3 separate regions of the Homo sapiens genome follow, and regions 2 and 3 are each linked to region 1. The links are contacts of gene promoters, found by promoter capture Hi-C in blood cells and fetal thymus (Javierre and others, 2016). All regions are on one chromosome and are shown on one strand. The core of a region is centred on a gene start or on the middle of the fragment in contact, and the rest is flanking DNA. Distances in the headings are between cores, read along the strand shown. Region 1 holds the start of TAF1A (TATA-box binding protein associated factor, RNA polymerase I subunit A). Region 2 has its middle 37 kb from the start of DUSP10. Region 3 overlaps LOC124904522 (a long non-coding RNA gene).

What was found. Contacts are between HindIII fragments. The CHiCAGO score rates a contact against its expected background, and 5 or more counts as called.
Region 2: a contact is called between a fragment that was not itself captured here and the fragment with the promoter of TAF1A in region 1, in 1 of 17 cell types (total B cells). The highest score is 5.8, in total B cells.
Region 3: a contact is called between a fragment that was not itself captured here and the fragment with the promoter of TAF1A in region 1, in 1 of 17 cell types (neutrophils). The highest score is 5.2, in neutrophils.

The regions. Positions count from the first base shown.
Region 1 is chr1:222,588,106-222,592,729 of GRCh38, forward strand. TAF1A (TATA-box binding protein associated factor, RNA polymerase I subunit A) reads right to left here and starts at 1,828. Exons shown (of 11, transcript NM_005681.4): 1 at 1,622-1,828; 2 at 338-460. The coding sequence starts at 458. TAF1A-AS1 (TAF1A antisense RNA 1) reads left to right here and starts at 1,815. Exons shown (of 3, transcript NR_110613.1): 1 at 1,815-1,857; 2 at 2,153-2,302; 3 at 4,061-4,528. RefSeq lists enhancers at 1,795-2,328, 2,329-2,861. The HindIII fragment of the contact is 1,624 bases long and covers 1,476-3,099 here.
Region 2 is chr1:221,776,293-221,780,916 of GRCh38, forward strand. No RefSeq gene overlaps it. Among named protein-coding and RNA genes, the nearest start is that of DUSP10, 37 kb to the left of the region's middle. RefSeq lists enhancers at 1,278-1,367, 1,438-1,487, 1,518-1,567, 2,618-2,667. The HindIII fragment of the contact is 720 bases long and covers 1,487-2,206 here.
Region 3 is chr1:223,145,621-223,150,244 of GRCh38, forward strand. LOC124904522 (a long non-coding RNA gene) reads left to right here. Exons shown (of 2, transcript XR_007066895.1): 2 at 2,268-3,537. Among named protein-coding and RNA genes, the nearest start is that of TLR5, 4.7 kb to the left of the region's middle. The HindIII fragment of the contact is 4,461 bases long and covers 134-4,594 here.

The sequences.
Region 1 (4,624 bases), core at 578-3,077:
CAACAGCAACTTCTTGAACACTTCCTAGGCATGTTTTCCTCAATGGCAGAGACCATATCTTCACCTATGACTCCCCAATATTTAATCAATGCCAGAGATAAAAGTGCTCAGTAAGTATTACTGGAAAAAATGTGTATCTAGCATAATACAGACTATCTATTATTAATCCAAGGGCAAAGAATTCTAAAAGAAAAAAGATTTCTTTTGGCTTTTAGCCAAAAAACCCTCCACATATTCCTCTTGAAAATTAAACCAGTCTGGTTATTCATTTTGTATCCCTATTGAATCTTACCACCTCCTTAAAGTTAAAATGGCTCAATGTTATTATTTTACTTACCCACAGTTTCTACGTATGTTTGAAGCCAAGGAAAATGCATTCCTGCACCACTGAGCACAGATGTTTCCACTTCTTCATCATCTGTCACAGGCCCTTTTAATTCTTCACTGAAATCACTCATACCTATTACAAGATGAGATATCAGTTACTTTCTGTACATCTTAATCCACAGTCTTCTGAGTTGTACAGAAAAACGGCTATCTTTTTATCTAATAAATATAATTTGATTAGCAAAATGCATTATACCTGTCAGCTCTTTTAAAGTAAAAAATGAATTTAACTATGTCAGCAACAGCCAAAATGAATGATCCATTAAAGACCGAACCACTAATGTTTCAAGTCCATGTAAAGATAAATAAGATACTGCCCCTCTAATTTAAAAAATCTCAAGTCTAGACGAAGAAACAGCAAAACGTATAATAACAAAACAATATGAAAAGTACAGTAAGAATAGAAGTAGCAGCTAATATTTATTAGGCCCTTACTATGCACTAGAAGTATAAATTATCTAATTTAATCCCCACAGCAATCCTGAGGTGGGTACTATTACTTTCTTCCATGTGAAGGTTGAAAAAACTGAGGGGCTTAGTGAAATGATGGAACCTGCCTAACATCACAAAAAATGGTGAGGACGATAGTCTAGGAAATAGAACACCAAACTACTTGGCATGACTAGAATTCGAGGTGCGTGTGGAGGAGGGGTGCGGAAGGTGAGAAACGAACCTAGAAAAATCATCATAAGCCAAGGTGAGTTTAGACTTACTCCTAAAGATGCTCAGGGCCCCTTCCTCATTACCCATATGAAATCGAGTATTAGTGCCCCTGATACTACCTCCAAATTTCCCCTATTTCCCCTCTTCAATCCTACAGCACTACTCTAGTTCAAGACCCCTTCAAACAGTGCCTAGATTACCGCATCAGCTTTCTAAACAATTACCCTGGCTCAGATTTTGCATCTCTGCATTATACCCAGAGTAAACCTTCTAAATTCAAAGCATGTGGCTAGGAGTATGAATTATAAGTAACAACTGAATTTGAATCCGACCCATCACGTGTTTTCAGGAGTAGTTACACAAATCCTCCCTTTCCAAATCCTCAAAAACCCAAATTGGTGACCCGCAGTTGCCACGGCAACCAAAGCTTCTCTATCCCCTTCTTTCGTTTTCAGACCCCAAGGGTTTCAGGTATTAGGAGGAAATATCAGGAGAACATGGATGAATCCTGACACACCCCTTCCCGTTCCATTTAAACGCAGGAACCACGGGCGATATCTGCGGCACTTACCCGCCTAAATTTAGAGCTCCTCAGTAAAGCTAAACTCAGTCTCCGACTCCGGCCCACGTGAAGAAATTCCCACCGGAAGACGAGTTAGGAGAGCTTTATATGAGCAGGCGCTAAACCTGGTTTAGGTATTTAGGCAGCGCGCGGCCCGGCTCGTAACTCCTCCTGCTGCAGCAGGCGTATCGTTGGCCTCGCCTCGACCCCGGAAGTGACTTCTGGAAGTGACCCAGGAAGTGACAGTGAGCTGCCTCTCTGCGATTGGTTTTGCCCGAGTTTTATTTTTGTCTGTCTCAGCTAGAAAGTGGGAGACTTTCATTTAAAATGGAAATTGGGGCGAGGGGTTGGCGGCTGGGCGAAGGGAGCATTCAAAAGCGGAGAATGTCACTTTACCCGAGAAATTCACTACGATGGGCCATTGGTTTCTGCTCGGCTCGCAGGCGCACTGCACGAGTGGAGGTGTGGCTAGTGGCTGTGATGAGATAAATCCATGCATAGCCTTTTCATTGCGAGCTTGAAAGTTCTTTTCTATTACAGTTTTAGCTTTAGGTTTAATTGGTTCGACTGCCTTCTCCACAATTTGGGCGAGAATTTCCTTTGCCTTCTCAGCAAAAGTTGTTCTGCGGACCCGTCTGGGTCAACTTTCATGAGGGACATTGAGACAAACAAATGAAATATGGGTTAAAGGTAAGATGGTTAAACCGTGTGAAATGAGAGACAGTTGAGGGGTTCTAGGGAAGATGATCCCGGAAAAGGACTGCAGGCCCATGGAAACGCAGTGTGCTTCTCCAATATTTGGAGGGCTGATCAGTGAAAGAAGGATCAGACCCTTTTTCTTAGCAGCAGAGAACAGAACTAGGACTAATAAGTGAAAGGTAAAGGGAGGCTGCTTTCAAGTCACAGCAAGAAAGAATTTTGTCCACAAATGAGGATGCACAAATATAGCATAGGCTCCCCCAGGAATCACTGAGTTTCCTCTGTGTAGGTGAACAGTTTGAGTAGAATCGGAGTATCGGAGAGGAAATTAAAGGGTCTGGTAAGAGTTTGAGGCCGGGCGCGGTGGCTCATGCCTGTAATCCCAGCCCTTTGGGAGGCCGAGGCAGGCGGAAAGTTTGAGCTCAGGAGTTCGAAACCAGCCTAGTCAACATGATGAAACCCCGTCCCTACAAAATAAAAATAAAAAAAAATAAGCTGGGGTGATGATGCATGCCTCTAGTCCCAGCTACTCGGGAGGATGAGGTGGGAGGATCACCTGAGCCCAGGGAGGTCGAGGCTGCAGTGAGCTGTGATCACCCTACTGCACTCCAGCCTGGGCGACAGAATGAGACCCTGTCAAAAAAAATTTTGTACATGGATTCCTTAAAATGCTACAAATAGTTGATTCTATGTTGTCTTCTGCATAAAACAATATGCAGTAGTTAAGGACTTGCAAGAAAAGTTCCTTCTGCTGCTCTCTCTGTCATTAGTTCTTGAGTCCTCACTCAAGCTTGTGCTCTAACTCTACAGGCAGGGCTAACATAAATTATGCGTAGTCCAGGAGACCACACACAAAATAACATACATAATCATTACTTTCTTGTCTAGAGGCTTAGTCTGGCTACTTTTCTCCCATTGGCTTGAGGTGTAAATTCACCAAAACCAGCCCAGAAATGATTTTACATGGAAAAAAGTTTATGTTCTCCCGAAAATGAGGAAGAGCTTTCAGATTTTCCTCGAAGTTCTCAAACAGCTCTAAGGAGCAGTAGGAAACGTGCCCTACCTATGCTTTTTCTTTCCCATGCTGCAATTCTGACAGAAAATGTGTTGGAGAGAAGAGATAAAAAAAATCAACTAGATCACATCCAATAGCATAAACAAGAAGGAAGGAGGGAAGGTTGCCGTGGCAGGCATCTGTAGTCCCAGCTACTCCAGAGGCTGAGGCAGGAAGATCGCTGAGCTCAAAAGTTCAATTCCATCCTGGGCAACATAGCAAGACCATGTCTCAAAAAAAAAAAAAAAAAAGGCATGACAAATATGAAAACATAAAGCATGCAAAGACTTTTCTAGATTTCAATCTATAAGAAAACATGTCCTAAGAAAAACATGTTCTTACAATTACTTTGTGCTACAGAGCAACTTAATATGGTGATGAATTATGTTGTTTTTAAAGTTGCAAACTGTCATTTAAGGAATATTATTTCCATGAACGCTTCCTGTGCAATCTATTAAAGAACAAACTTCACATAGCCAAACAGTTGAAGAGACCTCATCATAAATAGACTATCCTATATCACAGCTAACGAGAATAAAAAAGGAATGTGGCATGAAAGCATAAAAATAAAAACATCTCAGATAATAATATAGAGAAAACCAAAATACATGGGCTAGAATTCCACCCCAGGGACTGTATCCTCAAAGACACAGGTTTTTCTTCCTTTTTCTTTTTTTTTTCTTTTCATGTTTCAGTACTCTGAGCAGCTACAAAAAGAAGACCAGTCTATCCTGCTGGAGACAGTGGCCACGTGAAGAAAGAGCTCTTGCAGTATGAAAGACCACATGGAAAGAGAGGCCACATGGAACCAACAGTCAGCATCTTGGTTTCGGACACGTGAAGAAATTCATCTCAGACTGTGTATCCTAAATCAGGCACTTGCTGAATCTAACTACATGAGTGAGACCAGTTGACAACACATGGAGCAGACATGAGCTGTTCTCAGTGAGTCCTACACAAATTCCTGACTCACAACACTGTGAGCAATAAAATGGTTGTTATTTTAAGCCACTGAAGTTTGCAGTGATTTCTTACATAGGAATAGATAAATGAAACACAAACATTGATCATTTGCATCTTCTATCTTTTTTATGACTAGTCTTATTGGAAATTACCAGTTTATTTCTGCCATGGTTAGAAAACAAACTCTGAAATTTTGATACTTTAAAATTTTTTTGAGACTTACTGTGCCCAGAATATAGTCTATCTTGGTGAATGTTCTGTGAGCACTAGACAAGAATATGTATTCTGTAGTTATT
Region 2 (4,624 bases), core at 597-3,096, 810 kb before region 1:
GCCATGTTGCAGCATGTGTCAGCTCTTCATACCTTTTGACAGCCCGATAATATTCCATTGCACGGATTATACATTTTGCTTATCCACTCGTCTATTGATGGACATCTGGATTGTTTCCAGTGTTTAACCATCATGAATAAAGATGCTATGCACATTGGTTTACAAATTTTAGGTGTGAACATAAATTTTTACTGGAGAAAGTTTTTTTTTTTTTCTTAAGTGAAAGCAAGTTTGTTAAGAAAGTAAAGGAATAAACAATGGCTACTCCATAGGCAGAGTAGCCCTGAGGGCTTCTGGTTGCCCGTTTTTATGGTTGTTTCCTGATTATAGGCTAAACAAGGAATGGATTATTCACAAGTCTTCCAGGAAAGAGGTGGACAATTCCCAGAACTGAGGGTTCCTCCCCATTTTAGATCATACAGGGTAACTTCCTGATGTTGCCATGGCATCTGTAATTTGTCATGGCGCTAGTGGGTGTGTAGCAGTGAGAACAACCTGAGACAGTTTTGACCCTTAAACAAAGTGGGTGATATGGCTGTCAGCAAGAGAAAGGCAGGTAGGCAGGACTTCTGGGAGGAACAGCCACCTGCTCAGGAAGAAACCCTTCCACCCCAGCTCTTCCACTACCTGTGCAACCACCAGCAAATCACGAGATATCTCAGATCCACGTCTGCAAAACGGACATAAATCTTAGCCACATTGACCTCACACTTCCTTTTTTTTTGTGTTTCATATGGGATAATTAGCATAAAGCTGTTTTCAAAGGAAAAATACTACACAAAGACCCAACAGGATAGTTGTTCTTATCACATCACTGTCATTTTGGCAATTCTTGAAATTGCCAGTACCTAGTGAGCTAATGACCTTCTCACTCAGAACCAGGGAAGGAGAATCACACTCAGGCCTTTCTCTCTGGTGCCTGAAAAGATTTTCAGTACAGTAGAGATGTGATCTCATTGTGACTCTCAGAAGCTGTGCTTAGGCTTTCAGTCAATAGGCAACCTCTTTGGGGATAAAAGAACCATCTTATTCACAATGGCTTGCTGTACAAAAAAAATTAGAATAAAAGAATTATTTAATTCGTTGATTTATTCACTACTTTTTAGCATTTATGATGTGCTCAGCAGTGAGTTGTGTGCTTATAGAGGGTGGTGGAATGAGCGGCGGTAATATAAGAAAGTACTTGAAATTTGATGCTGCTTTTAGGGGAAGCCAATGTGGCCACTTCTGCTTTCTTATTGACTATTGGAAATGTAGTACAGTACTAGTAATTGTACTCTGGAATGGGCCAGTGGAAGCCAATTCGGAAAAAGCGGTCCAAGGAAGACTATAATGCTTGGAAGGAGAAGGGGAAAATGACAGAGGAAAAGAAGAGAAAAGATGGAGAGAGAGAAAGAGAAGAGAGAAAAAAGAAATTATAACTTCTTCCACCTTTAAGGAAGTGATGAGCCCACATATAGCCCAGGTGATTTTGAGCTAAATATAAAGCTTGTGAATTCCCCCCAGTGCCCAATTTGGCCCCTAGAGGTGGAGACAAGTTCAGTGGCCACAAAACCAGAGACTCTAAGTTCATAGAAGGGAGGAGAGAATGGTAGATGTGTGGGAGCAGGGAATTTACCTGCTTCCTGTTTCGGCCCCTTTTGCTAAAGTGAAATGCTGTGGTTTTGCTGGTTATACTTGTTAATACAATTCCCTCCCCTTGCAGGATATGTGTGTGGTAACGGCACCATCTGGGTTAGCGAAATAGATACTCCGAGGTATAACACACTAAACACAGCAGGATGTTTATAAAATTCTTAATCTGGGCCCTTTGGACCACCAAGAATAGACATAGAGATTATACAAGCAAATTACTAAATCAGGCTGAAACCAGACATATAAGCATTTTCATAAATACTTAAAAATTTACCTATACCACGAGAGGCCAACTCTCAGACCATTCTCTGAGAAATACTAGACCACCCTGAGATGCTGGTACCTTAAGCACACATTGTCTCTTCTTGTTATGTGGTCATCACCACCAGGATATCCGCCCCTCTCCTGCCCTGAACATCTAGAGCAATTTGGCTGGGCACAGTGTTCTTTCCAGAACATTTGATTGCTATACTTACATAAGGAGAAAACTCTATTTTCATTTGAAGACTTCAGACCTCCTTCACAAAGTGATACTGCAGTGAGGAAAAAATGCAAACTGAGGAGCCACGAAAGCTTGCAGCTGAAACAGTGGGGTCTTAGACAAATGATTTTGCCTCCTCATCTGTACCACAATAATAAGAAAGTTCATCCGACAGAAGTATTTGAAAAAAGCATCTGCTTTCATGTCTGGCACATAGTAGGCATTCCAAGAAGGCTAGTAGCTCTTACCCACGCCCCTTTTGAGGTGATTTTCGCTTACAACCAAGCCAGAAGGAAGTCATAAAGCTCACGGGCCTTACATAGAGAGGAAGCATCAGAGAGTTCTCACTCACAGCCCTCACTGCTCAGTGCAGGAGCCGCCCCAGTTGACAGGACTCACTTCCTCTGTCTACACTCCCAAACCTTCTGTGCCCAGCAGTGTGTGCACATCTGTCTACACTGAGCTCTAACCAGAGTGCCTGGTTGGGGTCATGACCTGGCTCATTCAGCAGCATGAGCTGGAAAGGACTTTGGCTAATAGGACACCTGGTATCCAATAAATTCCCCACCCTGTATTTGTGACTGCTAAAAAGCCGAGTACAGATGATAGGCAATTCATTTTGATGGTAAAGAGTGGCCCGTTCAGGGGAGAAAAAGGGAGTCCCCTAAAGAGACCCTGGGTGCTCAATGCCAGGAGCAGAGTGAGCTTGTGTACGGGATGTGTGCTAAGGATGTGTATAGCATGGTGAGTTACATTTTTAAAAAATCACAAAAAATGTACAGGTCTAGGGCTGAAAGTTCTTAGAGCTGCCTCACAAGAGTTGAGGTCCTTTCCCATTGTTTGCAATCTCAGATTGGTTCTTCTTCCCAGGGGCACATGGCACATAGCACTTTGGTGATGGGGACTGCTTTGCTGATGTCAGGGTCAAGGGGTGCATGGACCATGGGCAGAGTGCTGGGCTCAGCCAAATGGTTCTGGGTAGGTCTTGCCTCTTGTAGCTTCAGTTTTCTCTTTTGTCTGGTGAAGTTATTACGAAAACTCATCTCTAGCCTTGGCTTATGGGATAATATTCTTGATAGGACTTTGAAAATTTGAGATTTTGATAGAAGTGTAAGGGAGCAATTTTTTAGATTGGTTCTATGTGCCAAGGGGGAGAGGGCAAACAAAGGCACATTGGGGTGCTGGTTATGAGTTTGCTTGCACACTCGCAGTGTTCTCTTCCCTGGTCTGGGGCATTGTGTCTGTTCACACAGTTGAAAACCAATGGTGGCCGTGGGCAGCCCTGGACCTCCTAAGGACACAAGGCGAAACCAACCACCTAGCCACAAAACAGACGCAACCAGAGCCTAGCTAGCTCTCCAGCCTCTGGGCTCTCCCTGCATGGACGGCCACTCTACCTACCTCTAAGACCTATCTGGGCTTGGAAAAGGAAGCTCCTGAGCAGCCTCAGCCCTGATGGTGAACTCAGCATCAAGCCACAGCTTCTATCAGTCAGCCTGGAGAAAGCAGGCCCAGAGATGCACATTAGGATCCTGCCTGGCTCACAAATTCCTCTGCAGTGAAGTGACAGGAGTCAAGCTAGTATTGCAGCCTGAGTCATGTCACCTCCCTTGCAGGTTTCCTTAAGGTCATGAGTCTCCTGTGCATGGATTCATAATCCATGATCCAGTTTGAGTAAGTTGGCCCATGGTTTAGGCTTTGGTCCCCAAGCTTCTGTTTTGATATCTGTCTGCTATTCCCTGTCCTTCCCCTGCAACAATCCCATCCTCAAATCCAGTTTTCCTGCATTTCCAAATAGCACCTTCTCCGCTATGGTAGACAGCTTCAAGGTAGTCCCCACTCATCCTCACCTTGAAGCCATACCCTTGAGCAGTTTGCTCTCACATTCACTCGGGGTGACCTGTGTGACCACAGTAGCATGCAGCTGACGTGACAATGTACAACCTCTGAGGTGAGGTCATGGGAGATGTCGCGGCTTCTGTCTTGTGCCCTTGGACCCATCCCCCTGGGGAAACCAGCCACCTTGCCATCAGCCCCAGCAGCCTTGTGGGAGGTTCCCTGGGGAGGAACCAGAGCTGTCCACGAAGGGTCAGGAGCCACCTTGGAAGCAGATCCCAGGGTCCAGGCAAGCCTTCATAAGACTGTATCTGGCCGACATTTGATTGTGACCTCATGTGAGACTTTGGGCCAGAACCACCAACAAAGCTGCTCCTGAATTCCCAATTCACAGAAACCGTTAGAGAATAATTATTTTAAGTTACAAAATTTAGGGGCTACTTGTCAAACAGATAACAGAACCAGAGAATAGATAACCAATACACCTGCTTCTCTAGTTTCCTTAAGGCAGTGCTCCACCTACCCATTGAACACCCCATTATACTCAGGGAAGATGACCCCCAAACCCTATCACCTCTCACCCGATCATGTGCTAGTGATTACTGTGCTAGTACTTGCTAATTCTATTCCATTCCTATTACTCCGTCTTGCTGTGAGTACAAAAGCCAGGCT
Region 3 (4,624 bases), core at 1,114-3,613, 560 kb after region 1:
CTTGTAAACATAAGCAGTAGTGACTATTTCCATTAAAAAAGGTAGCAACCAAAACAAGATTCAAGGAAATACAAATACCAAGGTTTATTAGGTACTTCTTAAAACTAACCATCCATTCAACAAATGTGTATTAAGCTTCCGTAGCCCTTGTGCTTCTTGCCAGAAATACAAATCTAAATACGATCTGGCTCTCAGGAGCTTGCAGCCTGGGGGAGTAGGGTTGGACATGTAAATAAATGGTTATAGTGTAATTTGATAAATGCTGCAATAATATAGGTATCTAACTCTGCCTGGGAGTGCCTATATCTGGGACTTGGTGAAAAAGAAAAAGATGACTTTGTCACCTGGACGGGACAGAGGGAGGGCATTCTGGGCAGGAGACGAATGAAGGAATGTGGCTCATTTGGGGAACTGCCAGTGGTTTGGTAAATGGAGCGCAGGTTGTGTGAAGGATGGAGGCGGTTGAAGAGGTAGGTAGGCAATCACCAGATCCCACGTTCATGCACATGTGTTCTGCTGAGGAGTCTGGGCTATGCTCTGCCTCCCTGTAGGGCTTGGGGATCCACTGGATGGTGTTAAGCAATGGAGTGGCACCACACCTTCATATTTATAGACAAGAAGTTATAACCCTAATGGCAGTGTGTAAAATGAATGGAATGGGGGATGGGATGGTTAGCAGAAAGTAAGCCCAGTTAGGAGGCTACAGCAATTGTCTAAGCAACGATAATAAGAGTCTAAATTAAAGCAGTGGCATTCATTCATCTCTGTTGATATATATTATTTGATGGTTAGTTTTTTGATGATAAATATTTGTTGATGCTTAAAATATATTTTGATGCATAATATTATACCCCATCCCATGCTAGGTGGTAGGGTATAATATTAATAGTCAATATTTATTGAGTGCTTACCATGTGTCCTGTTCTTTTCTAAATACTATACATGCATTAACTGATTCAACCCTCACCACAACCCTATGAATCAGTACTATTATCATCCCCCATTTTACCAATGGGGAAACTGCGGGAGAAGAGGTCATATAACTTCCACTTACTTAGATACCTAATAATTGATGGAGTCAGGATTTGAATCAGGTAATTGGGCTGCAAAATTCATGCTGTTAAGCACCATCCCTTACTGATATTGTGGTAATGAACAAGCTGGACAAGGTCCCTGGTCTCATGGAACTTACATTCTGGCACTGGAGATGTAGAGGAGAAGACAGAGTGGGGCAAGGTTTAGATTGTAGAATCAGAAAAACTGGATCCTTATAAGAGAAAGAGCAGTCAGGGCAAATTCACAAGACACTGGCTTTGTGATTGGTGGATAGTTGTGTCAGTCATGGAGTTAGGAAATACAAGCTAGGGGTGGTAGGGTGGCGGAAGGTGAACTTGGAGGGATGAGTTCATTTTGGGATAAACTGGTGTTGGACTGACTGTGGGATATGGAGGTGGAGCCATCGAGTGAGCAGTTGAAGTCATGTGTCCAGAGCATAGAAAAGATGTTTATATGGAGACAATGGGGGGATCAAAGATGGGGGGACAGTTGGAGACATAGGCGGAAAACAATAGCTAGAAGACAGGCTTAGTCCAAGAGTTCATAAAGGAAAAGATTGATAAATTCAACTGCCTTAAAATGAAGACCTTGTGTTCATCAAAAGACATATTTAAAAGAATAAAAAGATAGGAAACAAAACCAGAGAGATGCTTGCAACACATATAACTGCCACAGCCCAAGCATCCAGATTATCTTCAGAACTCATACAAATCAGTAAGAAAAGTCAGTAGAAAAATGGACAAAAGATACAGGCAGATACTTCATAAAAGAGGAAATATAAGATGACCAATAAATAAATGAAAAAGTACCAAACCTCATTAGAAATCTTAGAAATGCAAATTAAAGCTATAATACATCACATATTATATAAATCATATTGGCCAAAAATAAAATGTCTGACAATAAAAAGTGTTGGTGACGATATGGTGCAAACAGAATTCTCACTTGTTGCTAGTGGAAATGTGAATTGGTATAACCACTTGGTAGAAGTTTGGCACTGTCATGGAAACTTGAAGATTCACATGCCCTAAGACCTAGGAACTCCATGCCTAGGTGCATAACCTGATATGCTCATATGCCACAATATATATACGAAAATCTGTAAGGCAGCATTGTTTGTTATATCCTTTGTACTAGACAGCTTCTATGATGGCTCCCTAAGATTTCTGCCTCCTGATATTCATGCCTTTCTGTAATCTTCTCTCCTTAAGTGTGAACTGGACCCAGCAACTTCTTCTAACAAATAGAGCATGACAAAATTGATGGGATATCACTTCTGAGATTAGATTACAAAAGGATGTGACTTCTGCCTTGCTCACACTCTCTCTCTGGCCCTCTTGCGTGCTTGCTCTCATGAAGCTGGCTGTCATATTGTCAGCTGCCCTATGGAAGGACCCATATGGCAAGGACTCAAGGGAAGCCTCTTGCCAACAGCTGGTGAGGAACTGAAGCCATCAGTCTAACAGCCTGTGATAAAATGGTTCTTGCCAACAACCACTTAAGCGAATTCAGCATCGAATCATCCCCAGCTCAAGCCTTAAGATGAGACCATAGCCCCAGCTAACACCTTGATTACAGTCTTGTGAGAGACCAGAGCCAGAGGACCTAGCCAAGAGTCCATGCCTGGAGTCTCAATCTACAGAAACTGTCACATAATACATGGTGTTTTAATCCACTGTGTTTTGGCATGATTTGTCACACAGCAAGATAACTAATACAAATCACCAAACTAGAGATCCCTCAAATGGTCATCAAAAGTAGAATGGATAAGCTGGGCTGGGCTCAGTGTCCCATGCTTGAGCCCAGGAGCTCAAGATTGTAGTGTGCAATGATCACACCTAGAAATAGCCACTTCACTCCATCCTGGGCAACATAGTGAGAGCCAAAAATAAAAAATAAAAATAATAAATAAATAGGAGTCATTGAATGAATTTCAAGGTGGGAGTGGCCAATGGTGCCAACTGTTCTAGAGTCAAATACCAAAAGAAGTGAAGTTTCCCGACTGGATGCGACAAGTTGCAGGTTTGCAGACCTGATTCTGAGATGGCCCTCGAGATTCCCATCTTTGGCACCCCTCTCCATTTTTGTGGGTGGGATCTGTGACTATAATGGGATCACTGCTCCCTTGATTAGGTGCTGTTATATGAGACTCCATCTGAGCAGACTGTCTAGTAATTCACAGCTGGCCCCAAAGAAGCAAATGGCCTTGTTATGAACTACTTACCTCAGGTCCTAGCCGCATGGCCCCCTTCAAAGGCTAAGAGTGACTCTCACCAACCAGCAAAGACAAAATAGGATGTCATTTCTACAGCTACAAGGAACTGGTTTCTGCCCACAACCCCAAGCTCCAGAAGGAATTCAGCCCAGCAAACACCCGGATTTCAGTCTGTAAGACTCTGAGCAGAGACCCCAGCCACACTATGCCTGGATTCCTGACTCCTTGTAACTGTGAGATAATAAAAGGCTAATGTTTTATGTCAATAAATTTCTTGTATTTTGTTATGCAATAGAAGAAAATAAATATAGCAGGTCATCAATGACCTAAGGGCAGAGTAGGTGATAGAGATCATGTGAAGTCTTTAAAATAGGATTATGACATACTTTCCCTACCCAGTTGACCTCCTGCCTGGATTTAATAAAGCCTCCTTGACTTTGTTACCTGGCACATTTGGCTCAAATCAATCTCGACTTCCACCCTGTGCTGCCGTAGCACCTCATTCATGTCATTGGCTATACTTTTCACCTTGAATCTAAATTCGATCCTGTTCACTGCCCCTGCCAGGCTGTGAGCTCCAAGAAAGCAGAGCTCTTTCCAGAGTTTTCTTTACATCCCTGGCTCTGGGTATGACACATGATGAATGCTTAATAAGTGTGGAACAAAAGAGTGACCCAAAGAAGGGCGAAGACTCCTGGTTCTTCATCATGCCCATGGGAACCATGCTTTGGGGATGTAGGGAGTGGACATTCTCTGTGGCAGCTTCAGGCTTCTGGGGTTCTGTGGTGCCACTGATGTGTCATGTAATTTGAAAGCCCTGGAAGAAACTATGGGTGACTCTGGTTGTCCCCTCTCCAGGGCCAGTTGGCTGCATTCCACGGAAAAGGAACCCATAGAGAGGACAGCTAGGATGGCCTTGTCTACCGCTGGCCTCAGATCTGAGGAGTGAATGTTTCTAATAGCCTCTTGGCATGGTTATTTTGGAGCTCCTCAGGACTGTCAATTACTTGACAGCATGAAACAGTTGGAGGACTCAGGGATATGACAAAAGCAGTGTAATTCCTGTTTTATAACTGAATCTCAGAAGAATCCTTTGGCCAATACCCTAGGTCAGGAAAGAAATAGCTACTTGGCTTTGCTCACACTCCACTTAGGTGAATTGATGTCCATTTTGTTCAGGGCTAGATTTCAACCTTCTGTTGTTGTGGAAATATCCCCTGTTGGATGTCAATTGCTTCCTTCTTCTCTTCCTTCTGCTTTCCCTTTCTCCACCCTTTTTTCTCTCCTTTTTAAAAAATTTCCTTTCTCTTTTTGCCAAAGCAAAGCTTTTCATTTCCCAGAAACTGAGCTGGC